Linked DNA regions of Homo sapiens: regions 1, 2, 4, 5, 6 and 7 are each linked to region 3. The links are contacts of gene promoters, found by promoter capture Hi-C in blood cells and fetal thymus (Javierre and others, 2016). All regions are on one chromosome and are shown on one strand. Each heading gives the region's core, a stretch centred on a gene start or on the middle of the fragment in contact. The rest is flanking DNA. Distances are from core to core; before and after follow the strand shown. Region 1 overlaps FAM199X (family with sequence similarity 199, X-linked). Region 2 holds the start of RAB40A (RAB40A, member RAS oncogene family). Region 3 holds the start of RAB9B (RAB9B, member RAS oncogene family). Region 4 overlaps LL0XNC01-250H12.3 (a long non-coding RNA gene). Region 5 overlaps LL0XNC01-250H12.3 (a long non-coding RNA gene). Region 6 overlaps LINC02589 (long intergenic non-protein coding RNA 2589). Region 7 overlaps FAM199X (family with sequence similarity 199, X-linked).

Region 1 (3,244 bases), core at 472-2,971, 340 kb before region 3:
AAAATCACATAACTGAGTAAAAGATTTATGCAATAGTTTGGAAGTGCTAAGAGAAAACCTCCATTTACATCAGAAAATCACTGCCCCCAAAACCAAAGAAAATGTCTTAAACACTACATATGTTCCACACTGACATTTCACATTTTTAAAAAATTCATTCACTTTTTTGGCTTATTGAAATTTATTCTATTTTCCTAAAATTCTAGACCAATCCATGTAGGTCTTAAGGTATGAATGCTTAGGAAACTGGCTGTGTCCATGTAATGTATTTTCTACTGAACCTAGACCAGTGACATACCAACCTACATCACAAATGACTTTAATTTGAATACTGGGCCGGGCGCGGTGGCTCACACCTGTAATCCCAGCACTTTGGGAGGCCAACGTGGGTGGACCACCTGAGGTCTGGAGTTCAAGATCAGCCTGGCCAACATGGTGAAACCCTGTCTCTACTAAAAATATAAAAATTAGCCAGGCATAGTGGTACACGCCTATAGTCCCAGCTACTCAGAAGGCTGAGGCAGGAGAATCGCTCGAACCCAGGAGGCGGAGGTTGCCCTAAGCCAAGATTGTGCAACTGCACTCTAGCCTGGATGACAGAGCAGGACTCTGTCTTTAAAGAAAAAAAAAAATCTGAATATTGCAACCATTCAACCTCAGGGACTGTTAGTGCTGTGACTGTCTTTGTTAATGAAAATTGCAAATATAGCCCAGAATCCAGTAAATGAGTAGGCACAAAATTGTCATAATCATAAGGTCCTTATCAAGTGCATTATTTTTAAAATCTCCACATTTTTCTTATCAGGTACCAAGAAGGAAGCAAAATTAAGGTTAAGTCAAATATCTACCAATTAACAAGCTTCCTACTTCCAATGAAAATTTGTTTTACAATCACTAAACCCAAGGCAGAATTTCAGCACTCAACTATTTGAAATCTGATTTTTGGGTTGTTGCCTGAATTGACAAATGATGTGATGTGAAGGAAAAAAGTGACACATACAACTCCAAAATAAAAGAACTCCCTAAACTTTGCCCGATATATGATTTAGCTGTGTGCTTCTCCCTGAAAAGAAATGGCTGGAAGCCTATGGTCCTCTCAAGCACCATCTTGAGGAGGGGTAAGAAAGCAGAACATTGCAGAAGGATAATACATTTAAAAGGCAAGGTAGCCTAGGACAGAAACATCATGTGCTGTGAATATCGCTAATTTTGCTTCCCCTACTCTCTGCTGAAAAGGATACAGAGCATTAGAACCCCTGCCACCATGCCAAGCCTTGCGAAAAGTAGGGTAGGAGAGGGAAGTTAAAAAAAAAAAAAAAAAAAGCAAGCAGTAACTAGGAAAAATGCTTGACTTGGAAAAACTGGGGCTTGCAAAGAACCTCCTTCTCCCCTCCTCACTGCCCCATTGAAAAACAGTCCTGACCTCACCACAGTCTTTAAGGGAAAGAAAACACAGGAAAAAACGGGGAGGAGGAAGGAACAGAACAAGTTGTAAGAAACATATTATTCTCATAACTTCACTCCCCATCACCTCTACCCAGTTTTGGCAGTACTTACCCACAGCCTCTGCCCTCACTCCCTTGCCCTCATCATCACAGCAGGATCATTCTGAAATTATTTAACTTTCCTGGGTATGTGACTTGCTCCAAGGCTGCAAAACTTAAATGCCAAATATGTACAAAGGTATTCTTTTACATTATTTTTCAACATAAATAACCCTAAGCACACTTGATTTCATGAATATGTTACATTCACATTACAGTGACATCAGGGGTTAAATAGGCTTCTGTGAGTTGGTCTAGGAAACCATAAGTTCTATTTGTAACACTGGATCAATTAGTTCTGCTCCAAGTTTAATCATTGGCTTCAAAGGAATAGTCTTGGATTTGCTTGACTAGGTTTTATGACCTTGAACTCAATCTTTTCTTTCTGGGCCTGTTTCTTCATTTTTTGCAATGACGATTTAGAGTAGTCATAATAAATTTACTGCCACTTCCTTTTGAGATGTGTTATACTGATATTCTGATTATTTAACTATAACACCTTGTTTCCATAGACTATAACTTTCATTTATGTAAGAAACATCTTTTACACATTCCTTGTATCTGGTAGAAGCTCATTCAATCTACAGACTGATTTAAGGGAAGGGAGGGGAGAAATATGCTAAAGACATTAAAATATGGAAGAATTTGATCAAACTCACATCATAAACTTGGATCAGAAGTCAGAACTAGATTTCTTAATTTATCTCCAGTATTTTCCATAGCTGAACCCCTCTCCTAGAGCCTTAACCACACACCCCCCCAGCCCTTTGTATATGTATCTCAAATATCCACCTATGTTAAAACTTGAGGCTGTATCTAGAACGTCTTCAACCCACCCCCCAAGATTTGATCTAACACGTAAATGCTTGCATGAGAGAAGTCTCCAGAACACTACCTTCTACTGAAATCAGTTAGGAGGAGATACACCCTCTGAATAAATTTGTGTAAGTCAGTCCATCCTAAGCCTTACTCTGTCTCTTCAAAGGGGAAGGAAACCAAGGGATATGTCATATGAAGGAATCCTCCAGATTTAAGCTTACCAATTTTGGCAGAGCCTAAAGCGCTAAGGCAAACAGTTAATAAAGGAGGAGGAAAAAAAGAGAGAATCGACTAGTTTCCTAGCGCTCAACTAAAAAAAAAAATGGGGTAGGGGTGGTGGCGGCGGGGGGAACAGGACTGTGAGACAGATTAAAAATAGGGAAAATGAAGCTTCTAGCTTTAAATGTTCCACCTTTCAACGCCACTTTTCAAAAGATCTATGGATTGATCTTGAGCCATCCAAATTCCTCTACAGCGTACCGGAAATGGAAGGGGTTAAACTTTTGCAGATGGATGCAAACAGGGGCGTATCTAAAAATCAAGGGTGGGGGTTTGGGATTCGTAGGGTACAGATGGGGGGAGGGAAGGGAAGCAAGGGAGGGAGAAGGTAGGGAAGGGAGGAGTCGCTATAGCCAGAATATGAATGAGGAAAAGAGAGTAAAACGCCGGTCGAAAGGAAAATAGGAGGGCAGGGGTGAAAATAGGGAGGGGGGGCAGGGAAGGAGGCCGGGAATGAGCGCTGGTCGAAAGCAGGTGGGGGAGGGGGCGACTGGAAGCGCAGCCCGGGACGAAGGATCAGGAGCGGGGGGCGACCAGAAGTGGAAAATCCACCCCTGCCCTCAGGTGCAGTTCGTACCTGTTGGTGTGGAAGCGGTGGAGCG
Region 2 (3,440 bases), core at 437-2,936, 310 kb after region 3:
AGTCATTGGCGATATATTGAAACTATGGAGGAAAATGTTCCAGAGACAATTCTACAGGTCATCTTCAGAAATCACACCAAAAGAACATAGTTTAGTAGCTTTCAACTTTATATGTGTGGTCAGAAATGATTTTGTTGCAATGTGTGGCTCAGGCTGGAGTGCAATGGTGCAATCATAGCTCACTGCAGCCTTGAACTCCCAGGCTCAAGCAATCCTCTCACCTCAGCCTCCTGAATAACTGACTACAGGTGTGTGCCCCCATGCTCAGCTAAACTTAAAAACATTTTTCAGAGACAGAGTTTTGCTATGTTGTTTAGACTTCTCTCACACTCCTAACCTCAAGCAATCCTCCTACCTCAGCCATCTGAGTAGCTGGGATTATAGCCACGAGCCACCATGCCTGGCGAGATTTACTTCTTTACCCACCAGTAAATCAACCTCAATAAATTCTTGGAATTTGGAGTGGTGAGAGGGTGAGCAAGCATATATGTATGTGAGTATGTATACATTTGTATGTCACTGAAGCTGTCAGGAATTTTTATTGTAAGGACTACTTGAGGTTAATTACTGTGCATCATGTCAATCCTATTTAGTTCCTAGTACATATTAGGAACAAGCTCGGGATAGTGGTGTTTGTTTTTTCTCAGCTTTCCTTGGCCAGAATGGTTACCATGGTGACTCAGTGACTGCGGTGTGATTTGGTGCAGACTGAGCATCCATTTAGGATTCTTGCCCGAATCTCTCACACCACATTGCCTGTCCATCAGATATAGTATTAGCTTTTCATCTTATGTGTAATTAATCACTTTTCAAGGGCTCAGAAGAAAGTTGCTTCACTTATCTGAGGTTAAGCTACAGATAACATAAAAAGACACTAAGTACCTTGAAATAAAAGGAAATGAGTTGTTGATATTCCTCTCCTGCCCCAATCTCTATTGGGAGGTTAGAAGAGAAATTCTTGGAATCATACAGCATGTGCTCTTTTGTGTCTTGCTTCTTTCAGTCAACATAATGTATGTGAAATTAATATTTATTGTGGTCTATATTGTAGATTGCTTATTCTCATTGGTGTAAAGTATTATATTATTTGGATATTTCACACTATATTTATCTGTGATGGAGATTTGTGTATTTTCCAGTTTTTGACATCTCATGAATAATGGTGTTATGAATGTTCATGTTCATTCTTTTGGATGAACATATATTTTCTTTTTTAAAAAAATCTTATTATCAATAATATTTGAACTATTTAATATCTGTCATCTTAAAATTATTATTCATAACACTTTTTACCTTGTAGCTATAGACAAATACATTCCCATTTTAGCAGGTTAATGAAATTATCTTTATAATACTATAGAAGCATTTATTTGAAGAATACCAGAAGGAACATCCTGAAAACCAAGAACTCAAAATGCCTTTTTATCCCAAAGACATGTTTTACAAATATATACCCATTCATCCATTTGTTTTCACAAATGAAGCTACAGAGAACTTTGAATATAATGATGTGCAGCAGGGGCTTATTCCTAACATATTTAAAATTTAGGTCAACCAAACTTCTCTGTGGAAACTGAGTTGAAATCCGAAATCTTACAATCCTAATTTCGAGCCACATTCATTTTAACTTAATTTTAACATGTTTTGCAAAATGTTCCAATATAAACTTAATAGTTCCTATACCACCAAACATGGATCCTCATGATTTTATTTTCTAGATTGGCTGATAGGCTGAATAATCTCCTGTAGGGTAAGAAGTGTCAACTGTATCAAGCACATGGAGGTGGACTGGCTACAGGAGAAAGGTTTTCCAAATCAAATTCCAAGTATTTCTTTCTCTTTTTATATTACCATTAGGAGAAATAACTAATGTAGATGACGGGTTGATGGGTGCAGCAAACCACCATGGCACGTGTATACCTATGTAACAAACCTGTACATTCTCCACATGTATCCCAGAACTTAAAAGTATAATAAAAAAATTTAACAAAATGGTGTTAGATTCAGAGGCTTGATTCAATTTAGATTTGTTTTGGTCAGAAGTACTTCATATGTGGTATTGTTTATTCCTATAGTGTTACACAGGGGGCTCATTGTGTCTAATTGTCTCTCCTCTTGTGATGTTAAGATTAATTACTATGTTCAAGTATTGTTAAGCTGATCCATCCATTATAAAATTTCCCATCCCTTTTTCACCTCGATTTTTCTGCAGCGTCTAAGGATTGTTGCTTAGTTCTATATTCATTAAAGGTCATAAAAGGATGATATTCTAATTCTATAATTTTCTCTGCTTTATTAGCTGGAATTATTCTATTAAATAAACTTTCATAAACCATTAGGTTACACTGAGGGATAGTATGTATAGAAAGGGTTGGATGAGTGCCTAATTCTTTTGCAATATTTCCACTTTTCAAAACAATGAGTTGTTTCCCTAGGGTTCTCCAAAGGCAAGCAATGAGTTGATATTGTTTGTTTTATTTTATTTTTCTTTTAGAGTGTCATCATGAGCTGTAGAAGTTTTTATATTATAATGTGTTTTAATCCATAGTAGTCATTATTTTATTTAATGTTCAAATTGCTTCATCTTTGTCCAGCGAGAGCCCCTTAAGCTTGGCTTCTGAGTCTTTTTGACGCACTCTCTGGCATGATAGTTTGGTCCAGATTCATCTAGTAGAATGGCTACACAGACCTAAACTCAGTCATTTCTCTAAGATAACCTAGTTCCTTTCAGTGTGATGTGTTTTAAGTGGATTCAATATGGGCACTAGAGTTGCTCATTGCTACTGGGTCTATCATGTTTCTTCACCTTTCTAGTGCATGGAGCCAGTGTATATATATTATATTTTTAAGGGAAAAGACATTATTGGCTTCTGTCCTGGGCTGTTTTTCCTTCTCTTTATAGGTAATGATTTTTTAAATCAATTTTCATTAAAACTTTCCAATTTTAAAAATATAAGCAAATAGAATGTTTCTATTAGTTTTCTCCTATTCCATATATATAAGGTGACATATTCTACACTGGTGGAGTCCAATAGAATTTCTACAAAGGTGAAAATATTCTATGTCTCAACTGTCCAACATAGTAGCCACTAGCTACCTGTGACTATTAAACACCTAAAATGTGGTGAGTGTGACTGAGGAAGTGAATTTAAAATTCCATTTAAATTTAGTTAACTTAAATAGCCATGAGTGGCCAGTGGGTATGGTATGGGACAACAGCAGCTCTACACATTTTTCTGCACTTTGCTTTATTCACTTAATGGTATATCCTGGAAATCACTACATAGCAGCAGAGAGAGGGAATCTTCCTTGCTTGTTATACCGGCATTGAAATCTAGGATGTAGATGCACCTTAGATTATTCAGTCAGTCCTTTATTGGTGGACATCTGTCTTATTTCCAGTCTTCTGCTGTTACAATTTGTTCTGCCAAGAATGACCT
Region 3 (3,242 bases), core at 660-3,159:
ATAGGATTTACATGTAGGAATCTTTGGTCTAACAAAGGATTTTTCTTACCTTTAGGTGTTCCAACATTCACTAAACGTGTGGTGCTTTCAGCAGTTGTGAGATCCTGACTACAGAACGAGGTAGCTTAGAAACTAAAAGATCCTTAAAACTTGCCAGTTGGTTTGGGGGTTTCTCAGAGATTTTTAAACTGTTGGAAAATGGCATCTATGAGAAAATGAAAAAGTAGTCTAGATTGTTACACCTAAAGACGAGTTACTCTAATATGAAGGACTGTTATTTAAAGCATTTCACAAAACTATTTATTGAGGTGCAAAAAGAAAACATTGGAACATCAATATATTTATTTTTCTCATTCTTTTAAAATTTCTGTGGAGTATTTTAATGTTTACTCATTAAAATGTATGTTTAAAGTAATGTGTAATGTATACATGTACAGTAGTACATGTATATAATCTATAAATCCTTATACATATGTTGGGGCCCATGCTCAATAGTTTTTTAATAGACTAAAATGTATGCGGAAAATTTGATTTAGAGGATTGTGTGAATCTCGTCTTCATCAGAAGAGTGTTTTAGAGTGTATGTGTGGGGAACGGGGTTGGTTTAAATAGGAGCACATGAGATTCAGTTACATCAATTTATTTTATTTAAATATAACAACTATTAGTGATACAGCATTCATTCATATTCAGCAAATATTTTCTGAGCATGTCCTATGCAGCAAGCATTGCCCTAGGCTCTGTGCATACGGTGGTGAACACAAACGTTGTCCTTGACCTCATAGTCCTTCCCCACTATAGTTTAGTAGGGAAGACAGCTGTCAACCAAATAATCATACACTTAAATGTACCACCAAAAATGGGTAAGTGTTATGAAGGAAAAATACAGCAAGTTACAGGAGGCTACAAGAGTATAAACTGGGGCACCATCTCTATTCTGAGATTATCGAGAAAGGTTATCCTGAGAAGTGACATTTAAGCTGGGGCCTGCGGAGATTGATTGCACGATTGCCTTGTCAAGAGACAGAGGAAGAGTGGCCTAGATGGAAGTAGCGGGTATGTGTGAGGGCCTGGACGGGGTCATGAGATGAGTGAGGGCCTGTGCCACAAGGTCACAGGGTTTCGGGCAATGGGGAAGCTTCAGAGATGGAGCTGCCTGACAGAGAGGTGGAGTGCAGGCTAAATGACCTCAGGAGCTTTGTCCTTCTTCAATTCCAGGGGGAAAATCACAAACTAGTTGGAAGTACCAGAGGGCTACAGAAAACAACAAAAAGAGACTAGCTGGTCGGCTAGGCACAATTAAAACATCAAATTCTGCCCCAGCAGCAATTCCGGGAAATTCAAGTAATGCCCCCTGTGTGGCCCTCTAGAACTGTATCTGGTAAGAGTAAAGGGCAGTGTGTCCTCTATGCCTGCGCTACAGATGTGGACATTTTTTTTAATTGCCTGAAAATTTCATAAGCTGTAGCCAGTTAGAGGGCCTAGCAATGTGTTGTGATCATGTGTTTTCCTGAGTTATTTGAAACAAGAGGGTGTATGTACTACCCTCTTGGCAAAATTAAAGGATTTTGAGCTAGGATAAATGAGGTAGATCAGAGGATAATTGCAGGAAGTGGGGCAGTGGCTAGCCCTGCTTGAGGGCTTAGGCCCAGGCTGCAGAGGAGCTAAGTGGAAGAGCAATATTTGACGGTCTATTGCCGCTGTGCCTACTAATCGGCTAGGGGAGGAGAAGGAGGACAAGGGAGACCAGGGTTGGACGATGAGCATGAAAGAAGAGTGGGCGAGCCAGGGAGCGCTTGCCACATGGAGGGCGGGAGGCGGCTACACCGGGTCCCCACCGCCGAGAAAGGGGCACGAGGAGGCGGCGCGGGCCCCGCCCCCTCCCCTGGCGGGCGCGGGCGCGGGCTCGAGACGCTGCGCGGCGGCAGCGGCGGGCGCGAGCGGCAGCTGTCAGGCCACCGAGGTCCAAGCCGCACTTGCTGCCCCATTGAGGACGAGGAGGCAGCAGGAGCAGTGACGGTGACTCTAAGGAGCCGGATTCCCGGCACGCAGAGCTGACCTGCCTGGCACCCGCGGCCCTCTCCTGTTTCCTTCCCATTGTGTTGGGTAAGGTGCCTGTGCGTGGGCAGGAACAGGGGCTAGGGGCTGGAGGACCCGGAAGGCCGGGAGGTGGGGGGCCTGTGAGAAGAGGGAGAAAGGAAAGTCTAGTTGATCCCCAGGACCACTCGTAGCTTGAGAAAAGGGACTGAGCCGCTCCCGAGGTCGGAGTCGGGGGCAGGTGACAGTGCAGGGGGGCGTTGCTGAGTAATCCCGAGCTGCTGCCAGAGCCGAGCAGAGAGGCGCAGGGCTCCGTGGGGAGCGGGTGTGGCTCAGTGCGCATGCGCCACAGCCGACTAGCTCTAAGAGCTGGGGGTGAGGTGAGAGGACCTGGGTCGGAGGTAGTTGGGACTATGTGTGACATCTCACTTTCTAGGTCCGTAATGCTAACAGTGCCCCTGTCGTAGAGATGCCAGCATTCTTGTCTCCCAAGGAAGCTTTTTTTCCTTGTGTTCAGCTCGCTTGATGTCATCCAAACCTTATCTACCTATCTGTCCCTGGGCAGTCTACTGAGGAAGAAGTGTCCTGGGGACGATGCCAGATTGCTATCTAGTGTGCCTTTGGGCTTATAGCCCTAGAGCTGTCGTTGTGAGCAGTGAAAGGTTAGATGTGGGACTCCACATTGGACCCTTTGAGTTGCATATAGGATATAAATGTGGGCATGAATGTAGGAATAGCGTTTCAGTGGCATGACAGCTGTGGCATTTGGAGTCGGCATGGATGTAGCTGATAACTTGTTAGCTCTGCAAAATGAATCCAGTGCGTCAGAGGGTTTCCGCGCTACGAAGCACCCACCACCAGCACCAACGCCAAGTATTGGGTTGTATTGGAAACACACTCAAACATTCAATCATTTCTCATCCGTGTTGAATTTTACATAAATATAGCCGCGCCCAATTCTTCAGTGCAATATTTCCAATTATTGTGCCAGCATTCAACAGTGAGTTGAGTAGCCCTTACCAGTGTGTCGCCACAAGATGGGCTTTCCCCACAGGTCCAACCATGGCTCCTCCCCTGTACAGACTTCCAACAGTGCCACTCTCATCCAGTGCCTAGCCCTCCCCAGTTGCTCTTCCCCTATCGATCCCTGCAGTACACATCCCTTTCAAGACTTGCCTCCGAGCAATCTGCACTACTGATTTTGA
Region 4 (3,242 bases), core at 709-3,208, 340 kb after region 3:
GGTTACAAAAGTCCTAAGTAGTATGGCCGGGTGCAGTGGCTGACATCTGTAATCCCAGCACTTTGGAAGACGGAGGTGAGCGGATCCCTTGAGCTCAGGATTTCGAGACCAGTTTGGGTAACATGGTGAAATCCTGTCTCTACAAAAAATATAAAAATTAGTCAGGGGTGGCCGGGCGCGGTGGCTCACGCCTGTAATTCCAGCACTTTGGGAGGCCGAGGCGGGCAGATCACGAGGTCAGGAGATTGAGACCATCCTGGCGAACACGGTGAAACCCTGTCTCTACTAAAAATACACACACAAAAAATTAGCCGGGCGTGGTGGTAGGCGCCTGTAGTCCCAGCTACTCCGGAGGCTGAGGCAGGAGAATGGCGTGAACCCGGGGGACCGAGCTTGCAGTGAACCGAGATGGCGCCACTGCACTCCAGCCTGGGAGACAGTGAGACTCCGTCTCAAAAAAAAAAAAAAAAAATTCGTTAGGGGTGGTGGCTCACACCTGTAGTCCCAGCTACTTGGGAGGCTGTGGCTGGAGGATCGCTCAAGCCTGGGAGGCAGAGGTTGCAGTGAGCTGTGATTGCACCACTGCACTCCAGCCTGGGTGACGAGAAAAACCCCACAAAAGTCAGAAGTAGTTCTGTATCTATTTTTGCTTGTATAGGTCTATTGCTATATATCCATAGGTCTGAAAGCATAAAAATAAAAATGATTTTTTTTATTCCTCTCAAATATAGCTTTCTATTTAGCATAGTAAGAGGCTGGACTTTCTGTTTGGCCATCAGTATCCCTGAACACTGGATATACTTCTGTTCCACCCAGACTTATAGAAAGCTCTGTGGGGTGGGCTTGGGCCACAACCCCTTCCTCCCACTTTCCTGCTCCCGGATGTTCAAGCTGCAGTTTAGGCTTCTGTCACGAGGGGGCACTAACATATCACCATTATCAGACTGCAAAGCAATATATACAATGAGCAAAAAGGTGGGAATTGAACAGTGAGATCACATGGACACAGGAAGGGGAATATCACACTCTGGGGACTGTTGTGGGGTGGGGGGAGGGGGGAGGGATAGCATTGGGAGATATACCTAATGCTAGATGACGAGTTAGTGGGTGCAGCGCACCAGCATGGCACATGTATACATATGTAACTAACCTGCACATTGTGCACATGTACCCTAAAACTTTAATAAAAAAAAAATTAAAAAAAAAAAAAAGAAATACCATACCTCCCTTAAAACACAGCTTGTGAACCTATTTTCAAAATTTTCTGTCTGAAAAAACTGACAGATGCAAAAGAACACTAAATAAATATACTCTGGGGGCATCCATACTATGAAACACCAGGTAGCTCTAGCACACATTGGGAGCCACCGGCTGGCATAGGACAGCACAGGGGCAGGCGTAAGGTGACTAAGAAATGATGAGGGAGGTGGAACTGAGTCTGGGTGGCTGTGTCCACAGTGTCCCAGAGAGGGGATGACTGAAAGTGGGTGGAGAAGGTCTGGGAAGCCTGTACAGGAGTGGGGTAACGGAGGGCAAACTGCCTGCTCTCTGGGAGGGAGGGACCCCTCTACAGTGTGGACACCTCAACCTACCCTGAGGAAGGAAAAGATAAATCAGTGAATGCGATGAGATTCTTGGAGCACCATAATGCAACTGCTTTAAAATATATATTATATATATATATACAATATATAATATATATCATATATACACAATATATAATATATCACATACATACAATATAATATATTACATACAATATATAATACACCACATACATACAATATATATCACATACATACAATATGTAATATATCACATACATACATTATATATAACATATTATATATAACATATATTATATATGCAATATATAATATATACACGATATATATGTAATATATTACATATGATATATAATATATACAATATATAACATATATAATATATATAATATAATATATAATACACATTACATACACACAATATATTATATATACAATATATAATATATTATATATAATATATACTATATACACAATATATGATATATACACAATATATGATATATTATATATACAATATAATATATTGTATATATGATATATAATATATAGTATATAAATAAATAAAATTCATATAGTTTGTATAAATTCATAAATATATTTATATAAATAAATAAAATATATGAATTTTGCACACAGAATTATGATCATGGTAAACAAACCATTTTAAGTCCTTCGTTACTCTACAAAATATACTCCTTTTTATTAAAAAAAAAAAAATAAAGAGATCGATGCCATCTGGTGCCCAGAGACAGGATTGCATCTCTGTCAGCCAAGGGCCTCGGTAAGAGGGAAAGAGGGATGGAGTTTGGGAATTTGGCTCCCAGAAGGTATCAGCTGGAGTCTTCCGGAATTATTCAGCTCATGGTAGCTGTCTCTCTGTATCCACTATTTTCTGGGATATCTAAAACTGATATTGGTTCCATCCCCTGTCTGAATTAAAGGTAAAGCTGCACGTATGTTTATTTGGGTGATAGAGCAAGAGAAGATACACACACACACACACACACACACTCACACACATAGACATTATCAATTCCATTTTTATCTACTTTGTCTCAATACAAAATTGAATACAATGAATGTACTTTCGAATTAATGAAATACATTACAATTACTGTTGCCAATCTATTCAAAAGTATTTATTGAAATGCTTTTTTCCCTAAATACAAAATTTCAAACAATGTATAAAAGTATATTTATAAATTGAAATGAATCTGCATATCTCACTGGCCTGAAGCCTACCCTCTGACCCAAAAGGGTCTGTTGTCAACAGAATGGTGCATACTCTCCAGATGTGTCCCTGTAGGTGAGGTGCACGCAAACACACAATCTGTTCCAAAAGTGAATCACAGTACTAATTTTTTTTGCAACTTTTTTCTTCCACATAATATTCTCTTGAAGATTTATATTTGCATCTTATTAGTACTTCCAGTTTTGACATATTTTAACATGTTTATTGTTCATGTACATTTTAATGAGAATGTCTGTTGAAAACAGCTGCCAGTCATTTTGTTACAGAATGTGGTTCACAAATCATGGATACTAACCCAGTATCTGAGATGTAGTTTGCAAATGTTTTCTCCCTTAAGTTAAAAAATGTTTAGCCTTATTTTTACTGAGAAAGTGTTTTAAATGTCAATAATGTGACAAAAATATACAGGTCATAATTTAAAA
Region 5 (3,247 bases), core at 203-2,702, 360 kb after region 3:
TCTGCCTCCTGGGTTCAAGCGATTCTCCTGCCTCAGCCTTCTAAGTAGCTGGGATTACAGGCACCTGCCACCATGCCTGGCTAATTGTTTTTTATTTTTAGTAGACACAGGGTTTCACCATGTTGGCCAGGCTGGTCTCGAACTCCTGACCTCAGGTGATCCAGCCGCCTCAGCCTCCCAAAGTGCTGGGATTACAGGCATCAGCCACTGTGCCCAGGCTGTTCATCATTTCTGTCTGAGACTTTATCAGAATGGCCTTTACTGTCCATATTTCTACCAACATTCTGGTCACCATCCCTTGAAGTACTTTAAGGCTTAAATACTATCTAAGAAGATTCAGACTTTTCCTACAGCTCTGCTCTTCTGAGTCCTCACCAGAATTGCCATTATAGCTCCATTTATGGCAGTCTAGGCTTTTTCTAGCCTGTTCATTCAAATTCTTCCAGTCTCTACCCATCACTACCTAGCTCCAAAGCTGCTTCCACATTTTCAGGTATTTGTTATAGCCACAGCCCATGTCTCGGTACCAATTTTCTGTTAGTCCATTTTCTGCTGTTATAACAGAATAGTACTGACTGGGTAATTTATAAATAAATAAAATTTATTTCTCACAGTTCTGGAGACTGGGAAGTCCAAAAGCATGGCTCCAGCATCTGGCAAGGGCCTTCATGCTACATCATAACTTGGCAGAAGGGCAAGTGAGCACATGAGACAGAAAGAGGAAGTAGGACTGAACTCATTCAGTAGTTTAGGAGCCCACTCTCATGATAACTAGCCCACTCCCACAATAACAGCATTAATCCACTCATAAGGGTGGATCCCTTATGGGCTAATCACTGCTTAAAGTCACCTCTTCTTAATACTGTTACAATGGCTGTTATATTTCAATTGGAGGGGACATTCAAAGTATAGCACCCAACAACCTCTTCTGTATATGATGCCCCACCAAGGGTTAGGGACTGGTCATTGTACAATCCCCATGCCTGTTCACTCAACAACCCCTTTGGTGATGATGATGAGGTTGATGATGGTGGAAGTGAAATCCTCTGCTTGGGGCCAAGAGACCTTGGTATGTGGATCATGTGAATTGACTGGCATTTAAGATGGCAGACAGGCTTATTCAGAATAATAGGTGCTTCCTCTGGGACAAAGATCTGGAGGGTAGGAAACTAATGTTGACAAAACTAATTATAAAGAAGATGTACTCTAAGTTGTATCTCCTTTAATCTTAACATTTATTCAAGTAACCTATTATTAAATGCATAGTTTAGATCAAGTTATAGGAAATTAAGAGAGGTTGTGTAAACCAGAGAAACTGCTTTGGTTATTGTCTCCTCAGGAGTGGAGTCTGGAATTTCACTAAAGCTTTTCATGTGTTCTGAAGCCTCCAGGAATCTGAATGCTCTAATCTCCCTGGACAATAACAATCAATGCTGCCCTGGTCATTGCTTAATTTATTTATATAATGATCTGTATATTAAATTATAATATTGAAAATTTTAAAACACTGTATATGACAAAATAAATCATTAAAGCTTGTCTCAGTAGGTTAGAGTAAATATGTACAAATTATATGGAGCTAATTCTCATGATATATAAAGCATTCCCAGTAGCCAATATGGAAAGAAGGTCTGATGATGTTATGGTAGGCACCCTCTAAAATTGTCCCCTATGATCCCCATTTTCCTTGTGTATTCACTCCCTGTATAATCTGTCCCATAGTGTGGGCTAGAGTTAGTGACTTGCTACTAAAAATTAAAATATGTGAGAAGGGATGGGATGTCACTTCTGAGATCAAGTGACAAAAAGCTGTGTTGTGCATTCTTATAGATGCGCTAAGGAGAGCCAGTTGCCATGATATGAGCTATCCATGTGACAATCGATGTCTCTGCCCAAGAACTATTGAGGCCCTGAGGCCTGCTAACAGCCATATAAATGAGCTTGGAATTGGATCCTCCCTCCGTTGAGCCTTGAGATGGCTGTAGTCCCTACCTAGACCTTGATTGCAGCCTTGTGAGAGACTCTGAGCCAGAACCTAAACTGTGCCATGATTCCTAACCCACAGAAATGATGTGTATTAATATGTTTGTTGCTTTAAGTAGCAAAATTTGGAGGTAATTGGTTATGCAAGATAGCTAATACAGATATAAACAGAGAATTCATGTAAACAGCAATATACATGCCCAAGAAACATTTAAAAACACATTCACTAATGAAATGCAAATAAAAACCTGGATAGATGCTGTTTTTCTGAAAAAAGGCAAGCTGCAGAGCCATATGGGTGATGAGAGCTTAAAAATCCCATAGAAGGCCAGGATGCCTGACCTAAGAGAGTCACGGGGACTCACCTTTCTTGAATGCTGGTGCATTTTTATTTCATGTATTTCCACAACATTATCAGGAGGTAGAGGTAATAACCTCTATGTGATTTTATAGCTAGAGAAGCAATAATGTTTGTAGGTTAAGTAGTCTGGCTGGGGAGTGTTGGGAGAAAGGCTTATGGGGTACCTGTATAAACTGGCCATAAAAATATGGGACAATAAGTTGTGGAAAGCCACAAGAGGCCTCTGAGGAGGAAAGTCTTCTTATCGCCATTATGTTCCCATGCTCTGAGCGAGACTTGCTCTCTTATCTATAAACACTGTGTTCAAGGAGAAAGACACTCCTTTGAAGCACTGGAATATGGCCAGATGTGCAGGCTCCTAGTTAAGCCCGCTCCCACTAGCTACTCTCCCATAAGTTAAAGATACGCTGTTTGAGCACAAAGGAGATTCATTTGCTATAGATTACACCTGCCTCCCTTTCACCGTTTCGCCCTGAACGCCTGCTTCTTAGATCTAAGTGATTGTACTCAACAAATAGTGTGGAGACCAGAGCTTGGCGCCTTTTGCAGCCTCCATTTTGCAATTGGTCCCCTGGCCCCCACTCTTTATGCACTCTTAACCTGTCTCTTCTCATTCCTTCATCGCCACCGGACTTTGGGTACCCTACGGGTGGTGTTGAGGCTGGTCCTCAACAGAGGAGCATTCTACAATAAGTAGAAAAGTAGAGACCAGCACCCCGTAAGGCCCCATGCAGACTGTATGATGCTGAGCTGCATATCACATGATAACCAAGTAAATCTTGCTTTCCTGCTGACCTGGGTCACTACTGACATCTGTATCTTCACCTCTGAAGCCAGGCTGCTAGTTCTGCCTCTCTTTCTGATCAGAGAATCTTGTTGTACATCAATATCCTGCTCTGCAAA
Region 6 (3,606 bases), core at 704-3,203, 280 kb after region 3:
GTTTAACATGCATTTGCTATAGATTTACATATATTTTTCTGCCTATATAAATAATCATCAGTGATTCCTATGTATCTCTCAAATGGATATGGAAATATGCAGTCGTTAGGTCTTTCTAGCATTTTGAGATTGTAATATAAATTATATAAATTATCTCCTGGTGACCATGGTATTTTTCCATCCTATAATGATTTTTTAAGCCAGAAATTTTGCAAGTGTTAGTTAAAATGTCAGTTACTATACCTTAATAGTTTCAGAAATAAGAATTACCCTAGAATTCGCTCTATTATAATGATACTAAGCCATGTTCCCTAAAGTAAACAGTTACTCTTAAGTATCATCATCATTATTTTCTTAGAATGTAATATTTTTATTTTTGTACTTCAAAAAGAAATGAACATCCACTTTTCCAAAAATATTTAAACACTGCAAGTGATTATTATGGTTGTATGTAGTGCAGAACAATTTGATCAGACATAGTAATGATCTGGTAATATAACAAGAGTGTAGTAGTTGGAATCTTTTGGATGATTTAATTGCATCAAAAACTTATACAAATGTATTTCAAATACTTTCTTTGAGCCATGTTGACATACGATATACCGTACATGTTTAAAATATATAGTTTAATAAGTTTTAACATATGTATGCTCTCTCTGGTGAATCCAATATTATAGTCAAGATAATGAACATATTCATCACCTCAAAAAGCTTCCTTATGCACCTTTGTAATCCTCTCCATCTGTCTCTAGCTTCCCTCTCCATGCCAACCTGTCCCATTCCCGGACAATCACTGGTCTCCTCTTACCATAGATTAGTTTTTGTTTCTTGCCCTTTTAAGTAAATGGAATCATAGGATGCTTATTCTCCTTTGTCTGACCTAATTCATTTGTTAACCCCAAAAAAAGTGACTGAGGCAAGTGTCTCAATCACTAGAGGTTTATTGAGCCAAAGTTTGAGGACATGCCTGGGAAAACTGCAAGTCACAGGAGCATCTCTGACTTGTGCTTTACAAAGAGGGGTTTGGGAACTCAGTATTTAAGGGCAGAGAGCAAGCAAGAGGGAAAAAGGGAGAGAGGGTAGGCAGTGAGGCAAATGGTTACATTCTTGTGAGGCTCTAATTAGCGGTCAGTAAATCTGAGTTTTACATAAGATAAGATTTGAAAAGAGAGAGGAAAGAGTCAATTATGTATTCGTTTCAGGGTAGGTGGAAGAGTGATTGATCTTGTCTTTGTTCTGGAAAGATAAGCTTGTAACTGACACTGTCAGTGTAAGATTTAACAAAACTCAGTTTTAGGAGTTAAACTTAGGTTGCAGACTTAAGGTTACAATTGGCATGTGCTGGTTTTATAGGGGGATATGTATCCTGAAAGATTTAGGGGCTAGCAAGGAATTTCCTTGTGAGCAATATTTGAGGAAGGTCATCTGGGAAGGTATAATGCCTTTTACTGTTGTGGGAATCTGGATTATGTATTACGCTATGACACAGGGTTGTGAAATTACAGTTATCTGGGGACAAAGGTTGGTAATGTTGCACAATTCATTTCCCAGGCTTAACTTTTCCCTTGGCATGATGAATTTGGGAATCCTGAAATTTCATGTTATTTTACATATTTGACCTAATTATTTTTAGATTTATCCATATTGTTGTATATATGAATAGTTCCAAATTTGTTATGCTTTGGATGTTGCTGTTTGTGTCATATCTAAGAAATCTTCTCTGAAGCCAAGACTGCAACAATTTTCTCTTGTGTTTTCTTCTTGAAAATTTATAGTTCTAGCTTTTAAATTTAAATCTTCTTTTATGATCCACTTTGAGTTTTTTATGATGTGGTGTATAGATAAAAGCTTATTTTTGTTATCTACCTGTTCCAGCACAAGTTGTTGAAAGGATGATCTTTCTGCACTGAATTGTCTTTGCATTGTTGTCAAAAATCAGTTGTCCTTATATTTGTGGGTCTATTTCTGGACTCTATACTTTGTTCCTTTGATATACATTTCTTCCTTGAAGGCAATAGTGCACTGTTTTGGTTAATGTAAGTTTATAATGAAGCTTAAATTAGGTAGTGTTTTTCCTCCAACTTTGTTCTTTTACAATGTTGTTTTTCATAGTTTAGGGTCATTTGCATTTCCACATGATTTCTGGAATAAGTTTATTGATTTCTTCTTAAAAATATATGCTAACATTTCTATTGGAGTTGCATAGAATCTATACATCAGTTTGAGGAGAGTAGATATCTTAACAATACTGAGTGTTCTGACTCATGATGATGGCATTTCTCTCCATTTATTTAGGTCTTCTTTAACTTCTCTCCTCAATGTTTTGTGGTGTTCAATGTACAGGCCTTGCACACATGTGGACAGATTATCCTCAGGTATTTTACACTTTTTGATGCTATTATAAATGGCAGTATTTCTTTTTTTAGGCTAGAGTGCAGTGGTATGATCACAGCTCACTATAGCTTTGGGCTTCTGGGCTCAAGTGATCCACCCATCTCAGCCTACCGAGCAGGTGGGACCACAAGTGCATGCCACCATGCCTGGCTAATTAAAAAATTAAAAAAAATTTTTTTAATAGAGGTAGGGTCTTGCTTTGTTGTCCAGGTGGGTCCCAAACTCCTGGTCCCAAGCAATCCTCCCACCTTGGCCTCCCAAAGTGCCGGTATTATAGGCATGAGCCACCATGCCTGGCCTAATGGTAGTATTTTCAATTGCAATTTCAATGTATTATATTTTTACTGAATTGTCAGAAGCTGAGTGTTTAATACTAGCTGCTGGGGAACCTTTTTGGTTGAAAGCACAGGCTACTCTAGGATAGAAAAGATGCTTAATACTTAATGTCTGTATTAGTCAAGGTTCTCCAGAGAAATAGAACCAATAAGATATCTATATATCCATATATCTTTATATATGTATCTTTATATATATACATATAAAGATATTTATTTTAAGGAACTGGTGTATGTGATTTTGGACGCTTGGTGAGTCCAAAATTTGATGGGGGAGTCCAGCAGGCTTCAGACTCAGGAAAGAGTTGAAGTTAAAGTCCAAAGGCGGTGTACTGATAAACCAGGAAGAGCCAATATTACAGATGAAATCTGAAGAGTGAGCTGGCAGAATTCCCTCTTCTTTGGAGGATATCAGCTTTTTATTCTATTTAGGACTCCAGCTGACTGGATGAGGCCCACCCACACTGGGGAGGGCAATCTGCTTTACTTAGTCTGCCAATTTAAATGTAAATTTCATCCAAAAACACCCTCACAGAAACATCCAAAATAACGTTTGACCAAATATCTGGGCATTATGACCCAGCCAAGTTGACACATAAAATTAGTCATCACAGCATACATTTGCCAGTGTTTCCACTATCAGCTTTTATAAGTCATTGGTAATATACTGAAACCAGGGAGAAAATGTCACTGAGACATTTTTCTAAAGATCATCTCCAGAAAAATGAATTACTAAAATAAAATAGTTTTGTAGCTCTTGACTTTGTGTGTGGGTAGATTTTAATTGTGGAGTTTTCTTTTTATACTCCCAAACAAATCTACCTTGATGAATTCTTGGATACTTGGGTGATGAGAAAAAGAGGGAGAGAGCATGTAT
Region 7 (3,255 bases), core at 243-2,742, 360 kb before region 3:
TACAAAAAATTGAAAAATTAGCTGAGTGTGGTGACATGTGCCCGTGGTCCTAGCTACTTCGGAGGCTGAGGTGGGAGGACCGCTTGAGCCTGGGAGGTTAAAGCTGTTGTGGGTTATGATCACACCACTGCATACCAGCCTGAGTGACAGAGCGAGGCCCTGTCTCAAAAAAAAGAAAAAGTTTAATCTCCCTCTCACACCAATCACCTACAACAGTTAACTGTGGGCAGCAGTTTTTTAGCCACTAATTACTGTTCACTGATAAAATGATGATAATGATCACTACATAAACCAGCAAATCTCTAGAGCAGCACTGTCCAACAGAACTTTCTGTGATGATGGAAATGTTCTACATCTCATGCTTTTCAATACAGTAAATAGCCTGTAGCCACATGGTAGCTACTGGATACTTGAAGAATTGCTAAGGAGACTAAAGAACTACATTTTAAATTTTACTTAACTTTAATTCATTTAAATAGACATATGTGGCTAGTGACTACCATAATGGATAGTACATTATGCACTGCCCATTATGGTAGTCACTAGCCACATATGGAGCTCTAGAGTACCTAAGAGAAGAAACACACACACGCACATTTCACTTAGTATCTAACTCACATTTATTAAAAATTGAAGATTACAGAAAAGCATAAGATTGGCATCATTAAACAAGCTTAATTAACTTACCTTTGACTAATAAATGAAAATATTTAATAACACTAAAGGAATTTTGAGAATAAGTTCTATTCCAACCTTAGAAATTAAAAATAAAAGCAAAGCAGCTATTCTCCAAAGGAGAAAGCAACCACAGATCTCCCTCTAGTGGCAAAAGATAAAGTTGCTGCTGAAAAGCTGAATTGCTCCTCCATACATAGAACTGCTCAGACATTTCTTCTATAAAATTCTAACTTAAGATTCTAAATCAATATATAAGGAAAATAGATCTATTTTTTGTCAAAAAAAATTAGACCTACTGCCCAGTAATAGCATGGATTAAAAAAATTAGACAATTTTCACTTACTATGAATGCTAATCTCTCTAGAAATCTGCTCTCTCTAGAAATCTGATCTGTCCAGAAAAAAAAATAAGTTTTGCCAATGACATTTGGGTATCTGGGGCTTTCACCAAATAAAAGTTTATAAAGCCATAACCAAACTGTGAGAAACAGAAAAGGGAGCAGTTCTCCTCTGTTGGTAAATATTCTGGGATAGAGCATGAAAGGAGCTGACTCAGAAGTATAAAGTAGTAAGCAGCAGTGAGTGGGCTGTGTAACAACTCAGGGTACATCAAAAGAAATAATATATTATAAGAGTTCTTAACCAAAACAACACTTTTCATTCTGGTATTCAGTTTCAAAAGACAGCTCTGCCACATTGCCAGTTTTAATTACAACCATACACACTCATTTAGATTTCACTACTGAACTACTTTCAAGTACAAGAAGGAACTCAAAATAGAAACGACTTATGATACAACTATTGTTATTCCCTCACAGCTTCAGGGAAAACAGGCTTTATATACACTGTAGTAAGTACAGAATGTACAGAAGACAGTTATATATACAAAAGTGCATTAATATAGTAATATATTTAGCAGTAATACAGGAAAAAAAAATCCTGGTTAACAATCTGATACATTACAGTATTTAAAACTACTTGAAGATTCTCCAAACCAGTCAACTTCCTACTTGCTTTGGTTATGATATTGCTGCTACATAACTAATCTTTGAAACTAAAAAGCAAAAACAAAAACCCACAATTTGAAATTTTTACCCATATGTGAATTGTTTTGCATATACTTGTTTACCATTAATAGCCTTTGACAATAGTCCTTAAATTCCCAACACAAAGGTTCAGAATAGATAATACTTGTTAAGTGAGAGTACTCAAATAGGAAATTAAATGGATCCACTACAGGAACAGACATTATCTGCTCCATTGTTAAAAGCCTCAGCTAGATAACCTAACCACAAATGTCAATTTCAGTCTCAGTTTAAATCCAATAGGTCAGCTACTGTTAAAAGAGCCAGCAGCTCCACAAAACTAGTCATGGCTTCAGGCCACTGTTCCTTAGAACAATTTAGAATATTAAGTGTTAACTTGTTATTTATACATATAGTCTACAACTACCTTTACATAGTCAAATGTATATGCATAATTAGAGCAAGTCTCCCCTTTTTCACCCCCATCCCTCACCACAAAAATGAACACAGATTTCCACAGGTTTTGTTGGACACAAAGATGTAACAAAGAAATGTGACAATTAAAAAAAGTACTACATACAGAATTTAGAGAAGATCAAACAAGCTTTTCTGAGTTCGGTATGAGTGTCAAATTAAAATTTAATTTGCCATTATATGCTCTAGGTTAAAACAGTAATTACCTTAATTTAAAAAATAACTAGAGGGAGAGCCAAAAAGAAATAATTTTAATGTTAAAAAAATAAGAAAATAAAATTTCAGTGAGTCAACTCAGATCTTCAGCAGTACCATTCAACTTCCTTACTCTTAATGGCCAGTTAGAAGAATTTTCAGAATTCCTTCTAAGGCTTCTGGAATAAGTAACTTATTTTCCAAAGAAATAAGACCTAAGCATTATAAGTAGTTATGTTCCGGATACTATGCTAACAAAGATGCCTAGCTTAAAATATCTCAGTTTTTATTCACTTAGCATAATTTTATTTTTAAGACAAAGTTTATCTTACTTTATCAGACTTAAAATGAATCCAAAGTTACCACAGTACATATGTATACAAATACTTATTTCCTAACTAACAGTCCTTTCAGAATTAAATTTACTTCTAGTTCAGACATGCTGAATGAGTCAGTGCCCTCAACATCAACACTATTATTTGAATGCAACTGGGGATTTTCCTATTAATTGTCCCAAACTATAAACGGACTGCGAGTACCCTTCAATTCCAAACAAATGTTTTTCCTTGAAGACAGAAGTGCTAAAAGTTCATTTGTTAAAGGAAAGAAGAGGAGTGTGTTCCAGCTATTACACAAATGAGTTCAAAGAATTCCTAGAGAATCAACTTGCTACATAATCTCTGTCCTTGAAGTGCTTTTGCCTATACCTTGAAAATTATCTTTCTAGATATTAAAAGTGATCTGGTTTGAAGAAGTATCCTGGCATATGATCTTTTTCAGAGGGAAAAAAATACATTAAGCCATACTTTAGATAACTTTCAAGGCTCTTCAATGATCTAGCTAGGCCGAAAATAAAGTTACACAAATGAAACTTAAAATTTGAA

What was found. The method cuts DNA at HindIII sites, captures the fragments that hold promoters and counts their contacts. A CHiCAGO score of 5 or more calls a contact.
Region 1: a fragment that was not itself captured here is called in contact with the fragment with the promoter of RAB9B in region 3 in 7 of 17 cell types (fetal thymus, naive B cells, total B cells and 4 more); the score reaches 11.7 in fetal thymus.
Region 2: the fragment with the promoter of RAB40A here is called in contact with the fragment with the promoter of RAB9B in region 3 in 17 of 17 cell types (naive CD4 T cells, total CD4 T cells, total B cells and 14 more); the score reaches 22.7 in naive CD4 T cells.
Region 4: a fragment that was not itself captured here is called in contact with the fragment with the promoter of RAB9B in region 3 in 1 of 17 cell types (naive CD4 T cells); the score reaches 7.0 in naive CD4 T cells.
Region 5: a contact is called between a fragment that was not itself captured here and the fragment with the promoter of RAB9B in region 3, in 1 of 17 cell types (naive CD8 T cells). The highest score is 5.8, in naive CD8 T cells.
Region 6: a fragment that was not itself captured here is called in contact with the fragment with the promoter of RAB9B in region 3 in 15 of 17 cell types (activated CD4 T cells, total B cells, naive CD4 T cells and 12 more); the score reaches 21.5 in activated CD4 T cells.
Region 7: a fragment that was not itself captured here is called in contact with the fragment with the promoter of RAB9B in region 3 in 3 of 17 cell types (fetal thymus, naive B cells and total B cells); the score reaches 6.2 in fetal thymus.

Annotation. Positions count from the first base shown.
Region 1 is chrX:104,166,958-104,170,201 of GRCh38, reverse strand. It overlaps FAM199X (family with sequence similarity 199, X-linked), which reads right to left. Exons shown (of 6, transcript NM_207318.4): 1 at 3,220-3,244. Among named protein-coding and RNA genes, the nearest start is that of FAM199X, 2.1 kb to the right of the region's middle. The HindIII fragment of the contact is 1,720 bases long and covers 862-2,581 here.
Region 2 is chrX:103,517,735-103,521,174 of GRCh38, reverse strand. RAB40A (RAB40A, member RAS oncogene family) reads left to right here and starts at 1,686. Exons shown (of 3, transcript NM_080879.3): 1 at 1,686-1,805. It overlaps LL0XNC01-250H12.3 (a long non-coding RNA gene), which reads right to left. Exons shown (of 6, transcript NR_188440.1): 6 at 3,232-3,440. The HindIII fragment of the contact is 4,467 bases long and covers 1-2,611 here.
Region 3 is chrX:103,830,924-103,834,165 of GRCh38, reverse strand. It overlaps RAB9B (RAB9B, member RAS oncogene family), which reads left to right and starts at 1,909. Exons shown (of 3, transcript NM_016370.4): 1 at 1,909-2,106. The HindIII fragment of the contact is 1,396 bases long and covers 1,141-2,536 here.
Region 4 is chrX:103,487,608-103,490,849 of GRCh38, reverse strand. All of the region lies in intron 5 of LL0XNC01-250H12.3 (a long non-coding RNA gene), which reads right to left. Among named protein-coding and RNA genes, the nearest start is that of RAB40A, 30 kb to the left of the region's middle. The HindIII fragment of the contact is 5,359 bases long and covers 1-3,242 here.
Region 5 is chrX:103,469,643-103,472,889 of GRCh38, reverse strand. The region is part of intron 4 of LL0XNC01-250H12.3 (a long non-coding RNA gene); the gene reads right to left. Among named protein-coding and RNA genes, the nearest start is that of RAB40A, 48 kb to the left of the region's middle. The HindIII fragment of the contact is 170 bases long and covers 1,368-1,537 here.
Region 6 is chrX:103,550,308-103,553,913 of GRCh38, reverse strand. All of the region lies in intron 1 of LINC02589 (long intergenic non-protein coding RNA 2589), which reads left to right. Among named protein-coding and RNA genes, the nearest start is that of LINC02589, 2.8 kb to the left of the region's middle. The HindIII fragment of the contact is 205 bases long and covers 1,851-2,055 here.
Region 7 is chrX:104,193,244-104,196,498 of GRCh38, reverse strand. FAM199X (family with sequence similarity 199, X-linked) reads right to left here. Exons shown (of 6, transcript NM_207318.4): 6 at 597-3,255. Among named protein-coding and RNA genes, the nearest start is that of FAM199X, 28 kb to the right of the region's middle. The HindIII fragment of the contact is 1,633 bases long and covers 676-2,308 here.